Linked DNA regions of Homo sapiens: regions 2, 3 and 4 are each linked to region 1. The links are contacts of gene promoters, found by promoter capture Hi-C in human tissues and cell types (Jung and others, 2019). All regions are on one chromosome and are shown on one strand. The core of a region is centred on a gene start or on the middle of the fragment in contact, and the rest is flanking DNA. Distances in the headings are between cores, read along the strand shown.

Region 1 (2,913 bases), core at 308-2,807:
GCAATTTGGGAAGCCGAGGCGGGCAGAACACCTGAGGTCGGGAGTTGGAGACCAGCCTGGCCAACAGGGCGAAACCCTGTCTCTACTAAAAATACAAAAATTAGCTGGGCGTGGTGGTGCGTATCTGTAATCCCAGCTACACAGGAGGCTGAGGCAGGATAATCGTTTGAACCCAGGAGGCGGAGGTTGCAGTGAGCCAAGATCACGATATTCTAGCCTGGGCAACGGCCTGTTTTGTCTCAAAACAAAACAAAACAAAAAGAACAACAAAAACTTACTGTCTTTATATAATTCATTTGGCACTGTTTTATGGCACGACATCATTGATCAACTATATTTTTGCTTCTATCTCAAACCTTTCTCAGGCCGTGTTTTTGTTTTTGGCAGTGTTCTTGTTGCCTAGCACAGTGCCATCTCACTTATTTGTTGATTCTGTTTCCTTAAAAACAAAGATGAGACCAATTCAAATCCTCATTACTGCGGGCAGCAACAAATCATCCAAACTCTGGCACTTCCAGTTCTTTCGAGCTTTCCTACCAGGTCGGAGGGTTGTCTTAAAACTTGAGGGAGATGAACTGAGTAAGCGATTACACTGAAAGCATGGGAGGGAAAGGACGTTCCAAACGTCCAATCCATCATCCTTTTGCAGCCTCTTAGTCACTGGGATTTTGAAATCTCTTTCCAAAGACTAGCTATGGCCCTAAATTGGAAATAGGCTACTTGAGAACACAGTGGATTCATAGTTCATCTCGGGCAGTTTTAGGAGAAATGCCACCAGCTTCTGCGTTTGAAGGCCAAGGTTAGCTGTTCATGGCGTGAGCACCTTCCTGCTTCCAACCTCCGGTTATCTGTAAATACCCAAGTCCTCTAATTTAGGACGCAGGTCATGGGAAGACGCTGGTTCTTAGGGCAGAAGTGAGCTCACATTCCCAGCATTTTTCTTAAACTTGGCAGAACTGCACTTTAACAAATTAAAATCCATGTGAATGAAAAGGAAAACTTAAGTAGGAAACAAACTTAAGCTTGAGTCAGTTACAGCATGGTGAGGATGTCGGTTACAGCAACACTCAGAGACCGATGAAGGAGAAATTCCAGTGGTGGGCTGGGAGACCGTCTCCATTCCAACTCCACCGCTTTTCTCTACAGAGACCCACGCACGCCAGCTCCCGCCTCAGTCACAAGGGAACGCCCGCGTGGGCAGGCAATCGTCCTTGGTGAGCCGGGATCTCCTCACCCCGAGAGCCGCAGGCTCCGCTGACGCCGGTACAGGTCTCGCTGCGACTCCCTCTGGGCGCGCGGAATCCTGGGACTTGTGGTCCCTTCCGCGCGCTGTCCGCCCTAACCGGCGCAGAGAGGACTACACTTCCCAGGATGCGTCGGGGGAAGAGGCCACAGGGACAGGCAGAGGGAGGGGGCGGCCCCAGTCCTCCGGGGCGTCGCTGTTTCCAAGCGGCGAGATCTCGCCTAGTAACCGGCAGCTGAGGTTCACTAGCGCGGCGTTGTGGCCCCGCCCCCGGAGCCCCGGCTGGAGGAAGAACCTGTCTCCCGCGGCGCCCCAGTGACGAAGTCCATCCCCGGGTGCGGGAGGCGGGGAGGGGAGGGCAGGCAGAGGATTTCGCTCGCTCGCCCGCGCGGGATCCGGGACGCGCCGGTGGCGTCCGCTGGCAGCAGAGGTTAGAGGCAGAGAGCGCGCGGATGCTCCGCGGGCGAGGCTGGTTCGAGAGTGGGAGGAGTGCAGGGCGCCGCCAGGGCGGCAGTGCGCGCGGGCCGAACAGTCCTGAGGGCGGGCATCCCTCGCGCAGCGCGCCGACCCCCGGGACGTGTGCGTCTGTGGGGGGTTGCTGTCCCCCGGGTCCCTCGGGCGACCCCTCTCCACGCTGGGCTCAGGGCAGGACCCGGGATTCCGTGGGACCCGGTGTTTAGCGCAGAGGTTTCTGGGGAGAAGTACACGATTTTTGCCACTTGTTATTTGATTTCTCCTCGACCAGGAGCGTTTGTAGGTAGCGCACTCCCTCCGACTGCACTAGTGCCTCGTTTCTTCCGAGTAAGACAATCTTTCATGATGCGGATTGGAGTTGCTGATCAATGAGAGCTGCTAAGTTCTTTATGGCTTTCTCGGTGAAGAGAAGGTTCACGGAGGATATGATTATTAAACACACACATGAAAACTAATTGGAGCATCTAAAAAATGACCATTGCATATTCGCCCTCGCTTATTAGGGAAACAGCAAGCGTTCCTTCAAATCGCATCAGCAACTGCCAGGCAGCAGCATTTACGCATATTTCATATCATTAAGGAGATGGAACTGGAGAGAGAAAGCGGGAGTAGGGGACAATTTTTAAAAATACCCAACTTGGTTTAGTTTGGGGATAATTTTCTTGGATTGGGTGACTTATGCGAAAAATCTGTTTCTTTCTTCCTCGCTCTCGCTTCCTGGATATAGACTGTCAATTTCGGATCCAAAGACGGCGATGGCAGAGCTCACCCGGGTTGCCTGTCAAATCAAGGCTATCGCAGAATAAATCCCGCCGCCTGCCGCGAAGCCCCGGCGCACCGCAAACTTCAGTGAGCGAACTGGGTGATCGCTGTTGGGATATGCAGATTCCTGATGTAAAAGGCGGGGTGGCCCCCCCGAGAGCCTCTCCCGGGGGCCGGAGCCCGCAGGTGCAGTGAGGCGCGCGCGCCGGTGCCGGCGCCCCCAGAGCCGCCTTGCCCGGGTAGAGGGAGCCCGGCGCCCGGCGGGGTCTGGCGGCCGCACACCGGCGGCGGCGGCTTGTCTGCGGCGGCTGCAGCGGATGATGGTGGCGGCCGGCCCGCTGGGCTGTGCCTGTGTGTCGCCGCGGAAATCAGCGCCCTGCGCCGCGCGCTGAGCCCCTGCAGGTCCGCCGCAGCCCCAGCCTCGGCGAGGACGG
Region 2 (2,913 bases), core at 218-2,717, 540 kb before region 1:
CCAGCTCCTATTCAAGATGGAATTTTTCTAGTTGAAATGCCTCTGACAAGATCCCACAGATTGGGGGCTCAGTCCCCAAGGTTCCCTCTTAAGCCCTAGAAATCAGTAGCAAGTCTCGGCCTCTGGAACTTCTGACCAACTGACTGGCTTCAAGTGGGGGTTCCCATGACCCCTCCTTGAATTCAATTAATTTTCTAGGGTAGCTCATAGAACTTGGAAACTTACATTTACCAGTTTATTATAAAGGATATTACCAAGGATGCAGATTTAGAGATGCATAGTGCATGCAGCTTCCATGCTGTCCTGGGCGTACCACCCTCCAGAAGTCTCCAGGTGCTTAGCTATCTGGAAGTTCTCCAAACCCTGTTTATTTATTTCTATTTTTATTTTTAATTTTTTTTAATGGAGGCTTCATTCAGTAGCCATGATTGATTAATCATTGGCCATTGGAGATCAGCTTAACCTTTAGCCCCCCTCCTTTCCCTGGAGGTTAGCGGGTGGGGCTGAATATCTTAAACCTGTTATCATGCCTTGGTCTTTCCAGTGACCAGCCTCCATCCTGAAGCTACCACCTGGGGGTTGCCAGGCATCAGTCAATCATTAGCATATGAAAAGACATCACTTCGGAGATTCTGAGGATTTTAGGAGTTCTATGCCAGAAATCTGTGATCAAAGACCAAATATATATTTGTTGGTTTTCTTTCTTTTTGAGACAGAGTCTTGCTGTGTCGCCCAGGCTAAAGTGTGGTGGCATGATCATGGCTCACTGCAGTTTCAACCTCCTGGGCTCAAACAATCCTCCCACCTCAGCCTCCTGAGTAGCTGGGACCACAGGCACACACCACCATGCCAGGCTAATTTTTGTATTTTTTTGTAGAGATGGGATTTTGCCATGTTGCCCAGGTCTGTCTCGAACTCCTGAGCTCAAGCAGTCGCCTGCCTCAGCCTCCGAAAATTCTGAGATTTCAGGCGTGAACCACTGCGCCCAGCCCAAATATATATTTGTTAATATCACAGACATTCATCCCATTCATGAAGGCTCAGCCCTCACAACCTAATCACCTTTTAAAGGACCCACCTCCAGATACTCTCACATTGGGCATTGGATTTCAAGATAGGAATTTTAGAGGGACATAAACATTCAGACCATAGCAGATCTCTTTACTTAGGTTAACCTTGTTTTAGTATTACAAAAAGCACTTCAGTGTGTTCATTCATTGTATTCAAAACATATTTATCAAGAAACTACTATGTTCAAAACACTAGGATATGGCTGTGAACATCTAGAAAAATTACCCACTCTCATACCATTAACATTTCTCAAGGGAGTCGGATAACTAACAAATAAACAAGATTATTGTGAATTGTGACAAGTCCTAGAAGGAAATAAACAGGATGATGAAAGACAGTAAGTGGGGCAGGACACTTTAGACTGGATGGTCAGGGATAATACAAACCTCATTTTATGTGTTATGGAAGGTAGTGTGTTTGAATGGAGTGAGAGAAAACTAGAACTGAAGTCCAGCTTTATCACCTTGTATAAGTTTCTTAACCTTGCTGAACACCATGACAGGCTGAAAATATAACAAGAACATAATGATAATAATCCCTACTACTTATAGTAGTAGCAGAATTAAACCAGAGAAAACTCCTGGCATTGTAAGCATGACTTTCTGCCAGGCCCCACATAAATATTAATTTCCTGTTAACTTTCCTAAAATTACATATAATCTGAATTCTGTAATACCCATTTCCAATGATATAATTTTAAGAAACTGTTCTATACATCTTCAAATCAATTTAATTCATCAAATATTTATTAAGCACTTACTATGTGCCAGTCTCTGGTGACCTGATGGTGAATAGAATAAACAGTATCCCTGCCTGGTCAGGGTTTAATTATTGTTCTTATTTGGCTGAGACTCACAAAGCCATTTCTGTCCACTGGTTCTCCTGACTAGTAGTAATGAATTTTTACCCCACTGCTATGCACATTTTATGTTAAACTTTTTTTTGTTGTAAAATAAAATAAACATTTAAAAAGGTTCATAAAACATAGGCCATAAATCTTAAAATCTGATGGACCCTCTCTTACAAAACCCTATATACTTATTTATGTGTCAGTACAAACGTCTACCATTCTGCCACTAAAAATAACAAAGAAAACAGAAAAATAGAAGATAATTTTTTTTTTTTTTTTTTTTTTTTTTGGTTGAGACGGAGTTTTGCTTTTTCACCCAGGCTGGAGTATGGTGGCACAATCTCAGCTCACTGTAACCTCAGCCTTCGGGTTTCAAGTGATTCTCCTGCCTCAGCCTCCCGAGTAGCTGGGATTACAGGCGCCCGCCACCACGTCAGTCTAATTTTTGTATTTTTAGTAGAGACAGAGTTTCGTCATGTTGGCCAGGCTGGTCTCAAACTCCTGCCCTCATGATCCACCCGCCTCAGCCTCCCAAAGTGCTGGGATTACAGGGAAGATAAATTTTGTTGTTGTTGTTGACAGAGTCTCACTCTGTTGCCCGGGCGGGAATACGGTTGCACAATCATGGTTCACTGAAGCCTTGACCTTCCAGGCTCAAGCACTTCTCTCACCTTAGCCTTCTGGCTAGCTGGGACTACAGGCATGCGTCACCACGCCCAGCTATTTTTTCTATTTTTTTTGTAGAGGTAGAGTCTGTTGCCCAGGCTGGTCTTGAACTCCTGGGCTCAAGCAGTCCTCCTGCCTTGGCCTCCCAAAGTCCTGGAATTACAGGTGTGAGTGACCATTCCTGGTAGAAGATAAAATCTGTGACCACCGTTTGGTGTCTGGACAGCCTTGTCTCTTGGGCCTGGAGGGGTAAAGCAGAGTCAGTCACGCAAAGTCACATAACTGGCAGAGACTCCTTGAATTTAGAACAGTTTGTTTAACCAAGT
Region 3 (2,913 bases), core at 229-2,728, 520 kb before region 1:
TTACCTTGATTGCTTATCATATGTCAAAACTGGAATACTCTTCTAATACCCCCTTTTTTTTTTCAAAAAGGATAAGTGGTGATTTACTTTCTGAATGCTTATAAATATAAAATTTCTTCCAATCACCTTATAGATTATATTAAGCTTGTCCAACCCACGGCCCAGGATAGTTTTGAATGCAGTCCAGCACAAATTCACAAATTCATAAACTGTCTTAAAACATTATGAGGTTTTTGTTGTTGTTGTTGTTATTGTTGTTTTTAAGACGGAGTCTCGCTCTGTCACCCCGGCTGGAGTGCAGTGGCACGATCTCGGCTCACTGCGACCTCTGCCTCCCACGTTGAAGTGATTCACCTGTCTCAGCCTCCTGAGTAGCTGGGACTACAGGCATGTGCCACCATGCCCAGCTAAATTTTTTTTGTATTTTTAGTAGAGACGGAATTTCACCATATTGGCCAGGCTGGTCTCGAACTCCTGACCTCATGTTCCGCCCACCTCGGCCAAAGTGCTGGGATTACTGGCATGAGCCACTGCGCCCGGCCATGGGATTTTTTTTTTTTTATGATTTTTTTTTTCAGCTCATCAGCTGTCAGTAATATTAGTGTATTTTATGTGTGGCCCAACGCAATTTTTCTTCTTCCAGTGTGGCCCAGGGAAGCCAAAAGATTGGACACCCCTGGATTATATCTTGCCTGGACACAAGATTCTTGGAATGCAGTCCTTTTTTCTTAAAAGTTTATATACTTATTCTAGGTTCCAGTGTGGCATATGAAAGGTCCGATGCCAGTTGTCATTATTTTGCTTTTATAAGTAAATATCCTGTTCTTGCTGTCTTGAAGCCTAAAAGACTTGTTCTTTCTAGTTGGAGTTTAAAACTTCACCATAAAAATGTGAAGAATGTGTCTTTTATTTCCCTTATAACTGCCTGGCATTCGGTGAGCTCCTTTGATCTAAAAAACTCAATTCTTTCTTCACTTCAGGGTTTTCCTATTTGATTATTGCTTCTGCTCTTTTCTCTCTTGCTGGAAATGCTATTTGCTTATTAGGCCTCCTGAATCTGTCCTGTATGCCTGTTATATTTTCACCACTGATTGACATTTCATTATTTCTGCTTTGTGATGTGATAGTTCCTTTGCTTCATATTCCAGTTTACTAGTTTGGTTTTTAATACCAGCCATTCATTTTACATCCTTTTGGAACTTAAGCCCCAGAGTTCATGTTTCTCATAGGCACCTTCTCCTTGAGTTTTCGTAGTTATTCTCCTTGTGTATCCCCTTAAACATTCTTATTACATTTTTATTGTTTCTTCCATTAATTTGGCTTTTGTAAAAGTTGCCTATCTCTCCATTCTGGTTTCCCTCCTTTGAATTGCTAAGTCCCTTAAATGTCTACAAAGTTTCTTTGCTTTGTTAGGTCAGGGAGTATGTATTCTCAAGCACCTGCATAGGCATGGTGGGTAAAGTCTGTGAGGCCATGGTGGATATTGCCAGTAACCCATGGGAGCTGGTCTAAAAAATTCTGAGACAGCATCTGGGCCTAGAGAGGGAACCACCAGAAAAAGCAGTCAGCATCTGAGATGATGCCCGGAGAGAAGCAGATAGACCATCTGCAAGGAAGAGAAGGCTTGGTTTCTTAGAGGGTGACCTACTGTTTTCTGTTCTTGTCCTTGGTTTCTCACAAAACCTTTGCATATCCTCTTATGACATCAGTATACATTCTCCTCTCCCCGCCTACTCCTATTATACATCTACCCTTCACCTCTTTGAGATGGCTTGAGTTGATCTGTCTTCCCAGATGAGGCAGCAGTCACATCCTGTTGCTGTGAGGTATTTTCAGCTCTTCCACAAAGGGCCTAGATGGTAAAGACCCATCTCTTCAAAATTCTTTCTATAGTGACTTAGATTTACCTTCCCAAGTATCTCCTTTTTACCAATGTCTTCCAAATATTTTCATTCCTTTATAAATCCCTTTTCTGAAATACTCCTCCCCTCTACCCCTCTGAAGTTCAACTTTCTTCTCAGAGCCTTTAGTCTACACAGATTTACCAGAGTGTTTGCATAATTGGGTCAGGATATTCATCTGCAGCTAATTTTGCACTTTTAATGTGATACAAGCTTTGGTTTAGGGTTAATTTGTATCAATAATTATGAATAATGTACTTATCAAACATAAATTCCTTTTTTGAGTGTATATATTTCCTGGATATTTATGGCCATGTTCTCTTTAATAATTCCTATATTTATCATTCTAATTTACTTCTATTGCCTAGTCCAAGGATCATTCTGCCTAGTACTGATTCTGCCTAGTACTGATGCATTCTTTTGAGAAGGAATAAAGTTACTGCATTATTTTAATGTAAGCTTGCTTTTTGATGGGGCATGCACACTGCCTCCTCACCCTCTTATACCTGAAACTTTCCATATTTTTGTTAATTCCCCTGTCCTTGAAGACATTTGGATTTTAAGTTTGGGGCCTTGGGCTCAGTATATCGTTGTAATTTATTTGTTTGCAAATAATTTTCTTAAATATTCATAATGAATGACATTGTGCATTAGAGGCAGATACCATGAATTGTAATTTAGATCTGTTATTTACCACCATTGCTGGTCGTGCTTGGAAAACTACTTTGAATTATTCTCCTATCCACTTAAAATTTATTTTCAAGTCCTGTGATTCTAAAATGCTTTTATTCAGATTATGTTATCATATGTTCTTGTTTAATTAGGTTGCCTGTCACTTTGCTAAAGGTCTAATTAGAAACGATATCTCTATTGTGTTTGATTCAGAATGAATGTACTAAAAGGCACTTTGAAAATAAGATAATGTCCTCGATGATGATATCCTTTATTTATGCCAGGTGCCTATTAGTATTTTGTAAACTCTCCATTTCACTTTAGCTCAATCTAATCCTCT
Region 4 (2,913 bases), core at 99-2,598, 510 kb after region 1:
ATGAGGTATTCTGGAAATGAGAAATTCAGACTTTCTGGGGTTTTTCCTGTTTGGTATTTGAAATCAGTTATGTAATAGGGTTCTGAGTTTAAAGTCGGGTTTGGGTTCAGGTCTTTACCTTTGTCTACCACTTGCAAAGCTGGCCTTTAGTGTTCAAAAGTCCCAAGACTTCTGAATGTTTTCATTGTAGCAATGATAACTGGTGAGAATTTAGGGTGCTTTGGTTTGTAAGCACCAAAACCACCAGTATTACACAGTTAAAAGCTTAAATATTTTGAGTCACTTAAATTAGACTTCAGAATGTGTTGTAAAATTATCTTAACAGCAGGTTTGTGCTTTTCAGGTGGATGAGAATGGCAAAATTAGTCGCCTTCGTCGAGAGTGCCCTTCTGATGAATGTGGTGCTGGGGTGTTTATGGCAAGTCACTTTGACAGACATTATTGTGGCAAATGTTGTCTGACTTACTGTTTCAACAAACCAGAAGACAAGTAACTGTATGAGTTAATAAAAGACATGAACTAACATTTATTGTTGGGTTTTATTGCAGTAAAAAGAATGGTTTTTAAGCACCAAATTGATGGTCACACCATTTCCTTTTAGTAGTGCTACTGCTATCGCTGTGTGAATGTTGCCTCTGGGGATTATGTGACCCAGTGGTTCTGTATACCTGCCAGGTGCCAACCACTTGTAAAGGTCTTGATATTTTCAATTCTTAGACTACCTATACTTTGGCAGAAGTTATATTTAATGTAAGTTGTCTAAATATAAGCCAGTTTGTGTTTCTGTCCATTTCTTGACCTCAACACAACAGACATTTGGGGCCAGGTAATTCTTTGTTGTGGGGTGCCTGTAATCCCTATGCTTTGGGAGGATCACTTGAGTGTCCAGGAGTTCAAGAGCAGCCTGGGCACCATAGCAAGACCCCCATCTCTGTAAAAAAAAAAAAAAAAAAAAAAAAAGTAGGCTGACTCCTATGGTCCTGCCTACTGGGAAGTCTGAGACAAAAGGATCCCTTGAGCCCAGGAGTTGTAATTAATTATGCATTGCATTTCAGCCTGGACAAAACCCTGCTTCCAAAAAAAACAAAATGCATCCTCAGTCTCTGGGTGTTTCAGTGGAATGCTTGCTGTCTGTTGTACAACGCTTGGGAATTTAATGTTTGTTCAGGATGGATCCCTATAAAGGAATGATTACTTATTTGTACTGTTAACAGTAAAAGACAGTTTAGTTTCAAGCAGGACTGGGGTAGCCTATCTTCCTTCGGAGCTCAATTCAGGGAAAGCTGGTTCACTTGATAAGCCTCTTAACTAAAGCATACACTTGAAAGAAATCGGTGATGTATAAATAACAATTCACTTTTACCATATTGCCAGTCTTTCCATTCAAGGATTTCTAGTTGGAGGCATCCTTAAATAAGGTTTCCTATTTCTGAGCACTTTGACAGTTTGTGCAAATGCATATGAACACATGGTAAAACAACTTAGATACTTTTTGGCCAGTAGTAGTGCATTTCTACCTTCAAACAAACAACACGTTGAGTTATTTACATTTTTAATGTAATTTTAAAATCCTGGATCCCAAGAAGTCTTGGCTTGAATTTGCTTTTCTTCATAACAAACAATTCTGTCTCCCACTTGAAATTCCATATTGTCTTCATCTAAACTGAGACCACAATCCATTCCCGTTTTGACAATTGAAATGTCATCTTTATGGTGTTTCAATGAGGTTAATGAGCCTTAAAAAAGATAATTTAAGGTTAGTATATTCAATAAATGATAAGTACCTACTAAATACTACATTATGTGGTGTTAACCAGGAAATTACACTGAAATTCTTAAAAATTTTATGGTCTTGTCAAGTTAAATGATGGGACTAAATACCAGGGGAACCCCCTCAAAAATGAAGTTTGCTGTGAATAAGACTTGATTTGTAACAAAATAACCTAAATCTCCTATTTCAAAGGTAGACATAAACTTTTTGCTGAGGACAGGATGGTACTCAGGACTTGAATGGGTAAAACCAACATACATCTCAGGCAAAGGGAACCCATCAACTACAGACAATTTAGGGGTTTCAATAGCAATAAGAAATGGCCTGAGCTGAGATTATGGGCATGAAAGATGAACAGATTTCAGATGGTTATATAGTCAACAGGTCTTGGTGACTGGATATGCTATTATAGGAGATTTTGATGTTGCTTACCCTTCCAAATTACATGTCCATTACGGGTTAGTTTAAATTTTTTTTGTTTTTCTAACTGTCCCTTTTGGACTCTGCAGCCAGCCACAGGAACTTTTTTCTTCCCTTCTGTTACAGAGAAGGTAGCTAGTATAGATGCCTCACCTTTAGGAAGAAGAGAACATTAATGTGCAGAAAACTAAAGATTCTGATAAATACGTAATTTCTGACATTCTGTGGTATAAGAATTAAAGGTATGACAAAAATCCAAATTCATGCCTAGAAAAAAGTCTGGGTTTCTTTAACTCCAATTTTATTTTCCTGACCAATATTAAGAATAAAAATGAATGAAAATCTTTGGCTATTCTTTTCCTTTTCTTTTTTTCTTTTTTTTTTTTTTTTTTTGAGACAGAGTCTCACTCTGTCATCCAGGCTGGAGTGCAGTGGTGTGATCTTGGCTCACTGCAACCTCCACCTCCGGGGTTTAAGCGATTCTCATGCCTCAGCCTCCCGAGTAGCTGGGATTACAGGCGCCCACAACCACATCCAGCTGATTTTTATATTGTTAGTAGAGACGGGGTTTCACCATGTTGGCCAGGCTGGTCTCAAACTCCTGACCTCAAGTGATCCACCCACCTCAGACTCTCAAAGTGCTGAAATTACAGGCGTGAGCCACTGCACCCAGCCATCTTTGCCTATTCTTGTCTGCTCCATGAAAACCTTGTTTTAAGCTT

What was found. Contacts are between HindIII fragments. The study calls those that stand out against the background at their distance.
Region 2: a fragment that was not itself captured here is called in contact with the fragment with the promoter of EML6 in region 1 in 1 of the 25 tissues and cell types used here (dorsolateral prefrontal cortex).
Region 3: a contact is called between a fragment that was not itself captured here and the fragment with the promoter of EML6 in region 1, in 2 of the 25 tissues and cell types used here (dorsolateral prefrontal cortex and hippocampus).
Region 4: a fragment that was not itself captured here is called in contact with the fragment with the promoter of EML6 in region 1 in 2 of the 25 tissues and cell types used here (dorsolateral prefrontal cortex and hippocampus).

Annotation. Positions count from the first base shown.
Region 1 is chr2:54,722,105-54,725,017 of GRCh38, forward strand. It overlaps EML6 (EMAP like 6), which reads left to right and starts at 1,558. Exons shown (of 42, transcript NM_001039753.4): 1 at 1,558-1,673; 2 at 2,445-2,913. RefSeq lists an enhancer at 1,091-1,310 and silencers at 1,451-1,940, 2,612-2,761. The HindIII fragment of the contact is 12,546 bases long and covers 1-2,913 here.
Region 2 is chr2:54,179,864-54,182,776 of GRCh38, forward strand. All of the region lies in intron 3 of ACYP2 (acylphosphatase 2), which reads left to right. Among named protein-coding and RNA genes, the nearest start is that of ACYP2, 66 kb to the left of the region's middle. The HindIII fragment of the contact is 6,996 bases long and covers 1-2,913 here.
Region 3 is chr2:54,203,751-54,206,663 of GRCh38, forward strand. The region is part of intron 3 of ACYP2 (acylphosphatase 2); the gene reads left to right. Among named protein-coding and RNA genes, the nearest start is that of TSPYL6, 51 kb to the right of the region's middle. The HindIII fragment of the contact is 3,733 bases long and covers 1-2,913 here.
Region 4 is chr2:55,235,085-55,237,997 of GRCh38, forward strand. It overlaps RPS27A (ribosomal protein S27a), which reads left to right. Exons shown (of 6, transcript NM_002954.6): 6 at 344-769. The coding sequence ends at 493. MTIF2 (mitochondrial translational initiation factor 2) reads right to left here. Exons shown (of 16, transcript NM_002453.3): 15 at 2,204-2,344; 16 at 1,511-1,736. The coding sequence ends at 1,564. Among named protein-coding and RNA genes, the nearest start is that of RPS27A, 3.9 kb to the left of the region's middle. The HindIII fragment of the contact is 5,067 bases long and covers 1-2,913 here.